Linked DNA regions of Homo sapiens: region 1 is linked to region 2. The links are contacts of gene promoters, found by promoter capture Hi-C in human tissues and cell types (Jung and others, 2019). All regions are on one chromosome and are shown on one strand. Each heading gives the region's core, a stretch centred on a gene start or on the middle of the fragment in contact. The rest is flanking DNA. Distances are from core to core; before and after follow the strand shown. Region 1 holds the start of PALM (paralemmin). Region 2 holds the start of PTBP1 (polypyrimidine tract binding protein 1).

Region 1 (4,205 bases), core at 1,328-3,827, 89 kb after region 2:
AAGGACCCAGTTAGCACCCAACGGAGACTTTCCTATTGAAAATTTCCAGGTCTGCGAGCAGGGAGGAGTCTGGGCCGGTCTTGACCATCTGTCCAGGCCCAAGTCTGTTCTCCTCCCTATCCCGGGGGTTTGAGCCTTGCCTGTACCCAGGACAGGGCTGTGGGTGCTGGAGAATGGCTGCTCCAGGCCAAAATATCTTTATTTTACCAGCCAGACCATGTGTCACGCAGGGGCCACACAAACCCTCCCAGAGCACAGAGATTCTCTCCGAAGCAGAGATTCTCCCCAGCTCCTTCCTGGACGTTCTCCTCACCTTGGCAGCATCGGCCCTGTGGTTAGCAACCCGCTAGTTCTCCTTAAATCCTCACATTAACAAAAAATAACCTGTTCTTGAATGACATTTAAAATTCTTTAAATTCTTAAATTCATTTGTGAAACTTTCCAGCGAGACGGGCACCACCACAAACCACAGCCAGCTCCCGTGTCTTCGACTGGAAAATCTGTGGAAACGGGAGGAGGCAAGCGATCACGTTCTAGCGGACGGGGCCTTCGTGCCTGAAGCCCGCCGGGGAGAAGAACGAGGGGGCAGGTGTCCAAGGCCGGGCGGCACCAGATGGGCCTGTCCCCACCCATTGTCAGCCCGGGAACCGGGGAGAGAGTCGTCCTCGAATGGCGGCTCACAGCAGCCGGTTAACACTGGGTGCCTGTCCCATGTCTGCATCCCCAAAAGCAATGATGACCCAATGGGGGACCTGTGGGCCACCCTCTGACCCAGGACGGAGAAACCGTGGAGCAGAGCAGGAGGCACCGAGGCCCCCCGGCCCCAGGTGCTGTGTGATGGAGGGGGGGTGGGGGGGGGGCAGCAGCTCCTCTCTGGGCCTCAGTATCCCCCGTGGGAAAGGAAGGGGTGGCAGGAAGGAAACAATGGGCCCGACCCGGAGTGTTCGCTGACACCCCTCCTCTGGGAGGGAGATCTCCGTCGTCCTCCTAGGCAGCCCCCTCCCCACAGCCACACCCTGCCCAGGCCTGGCTGTCAGAGGCCCAGAGGCTCCTCCGGGGCCTGGCGAGCAGGGCAGATAAACAAGGCTGGGGGGTGGGGGTGTGGAGCAGGCAAGTCTGGGCCCTGGCTCCCCTGAGCCCCTGGCTGAGCTCCCGGGGCGGGGTGACGGGGAGAGGGGTCAGGCCTTTGTCTGGGTTTTCAAAAGCAGAGGACACTGGGTGTCTCGCTTTCCCAGGGAGGGAGGGAGGCAGCGGCCCCCACCCAGCCGCGGGCGTGGCGGGTCACGGGTGAATCCCCGGGGAAAGTTGGCGGCTTAGAAAACACGCCCAGTGGGAAGGGCAGGGGGCCACAGGCGGCCTCCAGATCCGGTCTTCGGTCCTCGGGCTGGGGTGGGGACCCGGGCCTCAGCAGGGCAGCTGGCTCCCCTGTCCTGAAGTGGGCAGGTGGGTGACCCCAGGAGGAGCCTCCTGACCCCTGCCCGTGCAGTGCCCACCTGTGGGAGTGAGGGGCAGAGGGGCACCCGAGCACCGGGAGGAGGGGACCGGTGTCCGAAATGACCACGCGCCCTCGCTCGGTGCCTCCACTGGCCACCCCCCCCCCACACACACAGGCGCAGCCATGCGGGGGTCCAGGGATCCCAGCCCAGGGCCAGCCCACTCCTGTAGCTACACCAGTGGAGCCCCAGCTCCGAGACACTTCCCCGAGAGGGTATCCCACCCAGGCGCCCCGCTGGAAAACGCCGGTTCCTCTCCCTTCTCACACACCCCAGAGACCCGGGAAGCCGAGGGCAGCCCCTCTCCCTCCAGCGGTAACTCGGGACCTGCGCAGTGGCGGGGGGCTCAGGACACCCCTGGAGGCCCTTGGGAAGGGCGGGGGTGGGGGGCACCGGCCCGCGCGCGCGTCCAGGGCGCCAGGAGCCGTGCGCTCAGACTGGGGCGGGGGAAGGGTGCGTGAGCGCGAGGCCGGACCGGTGCAATCTGGGGAGGGGTCGCTCCATCTCCCCGGGGCCACCCACAGGTGGCCGAGAGCCGAGGCTCGCCCTGGAGACGCGGGCGGGGCGCGGGCGGAGACGCGAGCCTCCCCCTCCCCGCGTCCTGGACTGGCCCGAGCCGCCGCTGCCCGGGTCCCCACGCGCCGGTGGGTGGGCAGCCGGGGTCCGGGAGCGGGGAGGCCTCCCGGCAGGCGCGGCCCAGCCCGAGTCTCTTCCCGGCTGCGCTGCGGCCCCAGCAGCCCCGCGCCGCCTCCTGCTCCTCGCGGGGGCAGCGACGCCCCCAATGGGGCGCGAGAGAGGGGGCCTCCCCCCTCCCCGGCTCCCGGAGCTCCGGGCCCCCAGCCCCGCGGCCCGAGCGCGCCTACTCACTCCATCTCCCCGCCGAGGTCCGGGTGGGTCCGCGGTGCCGGGCGGGGGCGGGCGCGGGTGGCGCGCGGGGGAGGGGAGGGGAGGGGGACGCGGCCTGGCGGGGGCCGGGGCGGGCTAAGGCCTGGCGGCCGGGGCTGCGCGGCGCGGGGGCGGCGGCACCGGCTCGGGCATCGCCCCGCGCAAAGCTGCTGTTTATTGTCCGGGCGGCGGCGGGCGCGGGGGGTGGGCTGGGCGCGCGCGTCTCCGGCGCGCTCCCCTCTCCCTCCCGCCCGCCCCGCTCCCCGCCCCGCTCCCCTCCCACCTCCCCGCGCTGCGAGCGGGCGCTGCGCCTCCTGCCGGCTGCGCCGCCGCCGCCCCCCGCCCCGCGCGCCCCGCCCCGGGGCACCCCTGAGAAGGGCCTAGGTCTGGGCGCGGTGCTGGGACCCGGCTGTCACCAAGTCCCGCCCCTCCCCAGCTCCTGGGCCAGAGCCGGGACCCTCGCGAAGTCAGACAAGCAAAGGCCTTTCTCGAGAGCCCAGACGCCGAGAGGGACACACATTTCAGGGCGAGCGAGGGGATAGGGGGGTCCTGGGGAGGCCGCTGCGAGGAGCTGACAGCTCCCTGCACCCCCGGCCCCGCTCGCAGGGTCCCCAGGCCTCCTTTGCCGGAGTATCTGGTGGAGGGCGCTGTGCCTGCAAAGGCCGGGGGTTGGGGTGGAGACAACCGCAGGTGCTGATCTGTCTGTGCCCTGGCTGGGAGCTGAGCCTGGTCCCCGGGGCTGGAATTTAATCGGCCCCAGGGCCCCCATGGCACACTCACTAAAGGCCCAGCGACCAGACGACCAGAGTGAGTGAGAGGGACGGTGGAGAATCAGGGAGAGCTCAGGCTTTGTCCTCAGAGCACTGGGGAGCCACAGCAGGAGACAGGCAGGACCTGTCTTCCCCAACATGTAGGCCTTGGGCCCAGCTTCCTGGTTTCCCGTGAGAACACTGCAGACCAGCCCCAGCACACCTACTCATGGGGGTCCAGGGTGGGCAGGAAGGAAAGATTCTTCCAAACTTCTTAGTTTTCTTATAAAACGGTTCTCCTCTGCCGATGTTTGCTGAATGGCTGTAGATTTAAAGGAAAGTAGCCCCGGATGAGCTGTGGAGAAAGATACGGCAGGATGTACCCCAGGCTGAAGAAGGCCGTCAACACCTTTTCTTTATTCCTCCCTTTTTACAATGAATGTGTATTCATTTTAGCATTTAAGACAATAAGATAAATTAGCAAAGGTTAACAAAGCTAAGATCCTAAAGAATATCAGGGGTCCCGGGTCTGTCTGATTCCCAGCTCACCCATCTCCAAGCTGTGTGACCCTGGGTCTGTTTCTCAACCTCTCGGAGCCTTATTCCCCCCCACCCCCCTGCCCCCACCCTTAAGGCTGTGGGAGGGTTAACTGAGTGAGCACACACAAAGGGCTTGGCACAGGGCCCAGCACACACTAGCTCAGGGTTTGGCAAACTTTTTCTGTAAAGGGCCAGAGAGTAAATATTTTCAGCATTGCAGGCCACAGTCTCTGCGGCAATGACTCTGCTCTGCCATCGCAGAGTGAAAGTAGCCAGAGACAATATGTAAAACCATGGGCATGGCTCTGTGCCCATAAAACTTTATTTACAAAAACAGGCAGTGGGCCAGAGCTTATCCCAGGGCCGTAGTGTACTGACCCCTGCACTAGGCACCCAATAAAACTTTATTTACAAAAACAGGCAGAGGGCCAGAGCTGATCCGAGGGCCGTAGTGTACTGACCCCTGCACTAGGCACCCAATAAAACTGACCTGTGAGTCGTTTCTTCACTTCCCCTTGGCCTCTGTGTTCTTTTAGTC
Region 2 (4,410 bases), core at 407-2,906:
CCCCGAGGAATGCTAGATGCCGCTGAGAGGGTTCAAGGGCTGCTGTGTGCTTTCCAGTAAGTTGGAAACGCCTCGGAGAGGCTGAAACTGGCAAACTCACAGGCCTGGGCCAGAGCTTCCACCCGGGTAGGGGTGGGCCCCCAAGAGGGTGCCTCTCAGCAGAGTGGAGCCCGATCCACCGAGGAGAGCAGGAGGCGGCCGTGGAAACCGTCAATAAAAATTAACAGACCGACCAGAACACAGCCTCAGTTACTGATCAACCCGAGCCCCGCCCGACCCGACTCTCCCTCCTCGGGACACCCCGGGGGGAAGGTGGATAGAAAGCCGGACTGTCCGAGGCCCTCCCTTCAGCCCCGGCCAGGTCCTGACCCAACAGTGAGCTCCCCACGGCTTCTCCCGGCCACTGCAACTCCCGGCGAGGCCCTAAGTGACTCGGAGCGTCCGTCGGAAGGGCAGCCTCCGGGCCTCCTGCCTCACTCCGGGAGGCGAGTGCGCGGCCCCCGAGCCCGCGGTGCTGGGTCCGAGAGCGGGGAGCCCTCGTCTCGCCGTCTGCAGGACCCACCTGCCCGCACGCATGCTAAGGGGTCCAGACCCACTCTAGGGCTGCGCCTCTTCTGACACCACAGACTGCACGGACCACGTTTAACAGACTTTTAAAAGTGACTGAACCCAAGAAAAACTTCTCAGGAAAACGGAAAGAATGCGAAACATCTCCAGCCTCTCCCGCTTCCTATTCCCAGGGAGGGCCTCGCGCAGGAAGCGCTCGGCGGGACACGGCCTTTCTGGAGGGGGCTCCCACCTCTCCCAAGGGAAGCCCGCCCAGCAAAGCCGCCCGGAAAGGCTGCCCCGGCCCGAGAGCCGGGAAGGCCCCTCCCCATGACGGCGCCCGCGGGGGTCCCTGGAGAGGCCCCTCCGGCCCCGGGGCGGAGGACAGACCCTCGGGGCGGCCGCTTCTCTCCCGAGATCACCGAAACCCCTTGGCCGCGGCCCGGGGCGCACGGGGGGCAGGGGTAGGGCGGGGAGCGCAGAGACTCGGGCCCGCGGCGAGGCCCCGGCGCCAGCTTTCCCTCCCGGCGGCCGCCCCAGCCCCGCCTGCGCTTCCGGGGCTGCGCCGGGGGCAGAGTCCGGGCGGCGGGAAAGGCGCGCGCCCCCGATGGCGGCCGCGCACGCGCGCTGGGGCCAACGGGGACGCGCGACGGGCTACGCAGGCGCACGAGGGGAGCGGACGGGAGGCGGGAAGGGCCATCCGGGCGCGCGAGGGCCGGACGGGAAGCGGGAAGGGCCGCGCGCCGCCGAGGCGGGGCAAAGGCGAAGTGCGGGGACGCGCGCGGAGGGGGAGGGGCGCGGGAGGCCGCGTGCGCTAGGGACGGGGCGCGCGGGGGCCGGAAGCGGGCCGGACGGGGGATGGGGACGCGGCCAGACCCCCGGGAAGCCCCTGACCCGCCCCGCACCCGCGCCCGCCACGCGGAGAGGAAGGGGAGAGCCCGCCGCCCCCTCCCGCCCGAGAGGGGGCGAGATCGGCCCCGGGGAGGCCGGCGCGGCGGCGGGGGCAGGGCTGCGGCGCGGGGAGGGCGGTGGGGCGCGGGGCGACGTGCGACTCACCCGTCCATGGCACACAGAGCAGACCCGCGGGGGACGGAGTGGAGGCGCCGGAATAGCAGGAACCGACCCAACGGCTCCGAGTTATAGACTCACAAAATGGCGGAGACGCCCGCACACGTCCCCCGCGCGCGCTGCCCATTGGCTCCCGCTGCAGCCAGGGGGCGGGGAGAGCCCCGCGGGCCCCCGCCAGCACCTCCCACTGGCCAGAAGGCCGCCCGGGGGCGGGACCCAGAGAAATCGCAGGCGCCTATTGGGGGAGGCGGTTATTCCTCAAGGCCGAAGGCGGAAACGGCTTGTGTAGTCGGGGGAGGGGGAGAAAATGGGATCACGTGACGGCGTCTGAGCCAGTCAGCTGGCGCGTGGCTTTGCGGGAGACGCCATCTTGAGAGTGGGTACGTGGCGAGTCAGGCGGCGGGAAGCGTGCTTTGCCCAGGCTGCCGCCATCTTGCAAGTGGGCAGGACCCGCCCGCCTGGGCCGTGAGGGCAAAGGGAGTCGCATCGCCATCTTGGAGTCGGGCAGGAAACCCTCAGGGCTCCATGTTGGTTGTGGGCACATGGCCAAAAAGTCCGATTCAAACTGAGCGCTCACATCTGGGTGATCGCGCGGGGAGGGAAAGGCCGCGTCGCGTCCCGGACACGCCAGGGCTGTTTCCACAGTGGCCACAGATACTGCGGGCGCGCCATGATCCGGGGTCACCCCCGACCGTTCTTTGTTCGCCCCGGAACAGCGAATCCCGACTGCGGAGATAGGGAAACTGAGGTCCGGGCCCCGCACAGTCCGCGGCCGGCTGCCTACAGCTGGGAAAACTGAGGCCTGGACCTTGTACAGTCCGCGGCCGCCCGCCTACAGCTGGGGAAACTGAGGCCTGGACCTTATACAGTAGGCGGCCGCCCGCCTACAGCTGGGGAAACTGAGGCCTGGACCTTGTACAGTCCGCGGCCTCTCACCTACAGCTGGGGAAACTGAGGCCTGGACCTTGTACAGTCCGCGGCCGCCCGCCTACAGGTGGGGAAACTGAGGCCTGGACCTTGCAGTCCTTGGCCGCCCGCCTACAGCTGGGGAAACTGAGGCCTGGACCTTGTACAGTCCGCGGCCTCTCACCTACAGCTGGGGAAACTGAGGCCTGGACCTTGTACAGTGGGCGGCCGCCCGCTTACAGCTGGGGAAACTGAGGCCTGGACTTTGCACAGTCCGCGGCCAACCGCCTAAAGCTGGGGAAGCTGAGGTCCGGGCCACACACAGTCCACGGCCATCCGCCTACAGCTGGGGAAACTGAGGCCAAAGCCACACACAGTCCACGGCCATCTGCCTACAGCGGGGGAAACTGAGGCCCAGGCCACACACAGTCCACGGCCATCCGCCTACAGCTGGAGAAACTGAGGCCCGGGCTCCATACAATCCAAGGCCGCCCGCCTACAGGTGGGGAAACTGAGGCCCAAGCCACCCGCCTACAGCTGGGGAAACTGAGGCCCGAGCCCCCTACAGTCCCTGGCCCACTGACCTACAGCTGGGGAAACTGTGGCCTGGAGCTCGTACAGTTCGAGGCTGCCAGCCTACGGCTGGGGAAACTGAGGGCCAGGCCCAGCAGGGTCACCAGGAGGGTCCCTCCCGGGCCACCATCCCAGCAGCAGAAAACACCCTAAACTAATGTTCCCAGGAGCGCTGATCACATGAAGAGTCTGACAGAGCTGTGAGGGTGCCTGACGGGGAGGCCAGGTCAGCGGGTTGGGAGCCATCCCAGAGTGAGGGGATGACCCCGGCCCTCCACACTGGGACCCTCACGGGAGGCTGCGGTTGGAAACCGGAGCAGTTCCCGGCCCGGAGTAGACACTGCTCCCTAAATAGAATTAGCGGGATTTAGTCCATGCTGAAAAGGGGGTTTTTCATTAACACCAACCTACGGAGGGAGAAGACATGACAATTCTCGTTTCCCCAAATCCAGGCGAGCCTAGCGCCCTGCTTCTCTGGCGTGTTTTATTCCAGCAGTGCTGCGTTTCAGGCCGGGGCCTGGCGTGGGCCCAGGAGCCTTGGAGCCCCGCCGGGCGTCTGGTGCCAGAGGATTCCAGCCCGGATTAGGGGTGGCCGCCGAGCTCCATGGAGGCATCGCACGGCAAGGTCCTTTGGCCCGAACCACCCGGTCAACGGAGACTCACCAAGAGCCATCTGCAGCCAGGGTCACTCATCAGGAATGTCCGGTGGATCTGGGAGAAGCCCAGTGTGTTACTGTGGATTTGCTCCCCTGGAGACCCCCATCCTCACACCACCAGAACCAGCCGCTTCTGTCTGTTCGCGGAGTGCCTGGGATGGGCCCCGCCCTGAAAGCAGACAGGCAGGGGCGGCCGGGGGTCTGAGTGGCAGCTGGCAGCAGTAGAGACCACCAGGTTCCAAGCACCAGTCTAACCCTTCGGAATCGTGTTAAAACCCACTTCTGATCGTGGCCCCGCCAGGCCTCCTGTCTTGCTCAAAGTATAAACCCAAGGCCATCCCTTACCCCGCAAGCCCCACATGACCAGCCACCTGTCCAGTACCTTTTTTTATTTTTATTTTTTTAAGACAGTGTCTGGCCGGGTGCAATGGCTCACACCTGTAATCCCAGCACTCTGGCAGGCCGAGGTGAGTGGATCACCTGAGGTCAGAGTTCGAGACCAGCCTGGCCAACATGGAGAAACCTCCTCTCCACCAAAAATACAAAAATTAGCCAGGCGTGGTGGTGCATGCCCTATAATCCCAGCTCCTTGGGAGGCTGAGGCAAGAGAATCACTTGAACCCGGGAGGCGGAGGTTGCAGTGAGCCGAGATTGCGCCATT

The links. Contacts are between HindIII fragments. The study calls those that stand out against the background at their distance.
Region 1: a contact is called between the fragment with the promoter of PALM here and the fragment with the promoter of PTBP1 in region 2, in 2 of the 25 tissues and cell types used here (dorsolateral prefrontal cortex and lymphoblastoid cells).

What each region holds. Positions count from the first base shown.
Region 1 is chr19:707,307-711,511 of GRCh38, reverse strand. PALM (paralemmin) reads right to left here and starts at 2,577. Exons shown (of 9, transcript NM_002579.3): 1 at 2,361-2,577. The coding sequence starts at 2,365. RefSeq lists a silencer at 3,331-3,567 and an enhancer at 3,020-3,580. The HindIII fragment of the contact is 30,523 bases long and covers 1-4,205 here.
Region 2 is chr19:794,698-799,107 of GRCh38, reverse strand. It overlaps PTBP1 (polypyrimidine tract binding protein 1), which reads right to left and starts at 1,656. Exons shown (of 15, transcript NM_002819.5): 1 at 1,603-1,656. The coding sequence starts at 1,610. RefSeq lists enhancers at 1-817, 818-1,703, 1,910-2,249, 1,902-2,537 and silencers at 960-1,269, 1,340-1,519, 1,530-1,879, 1,643-1,997. The HindIII fragment of the contact is 37,831 bases long and covers 1-4,410 here.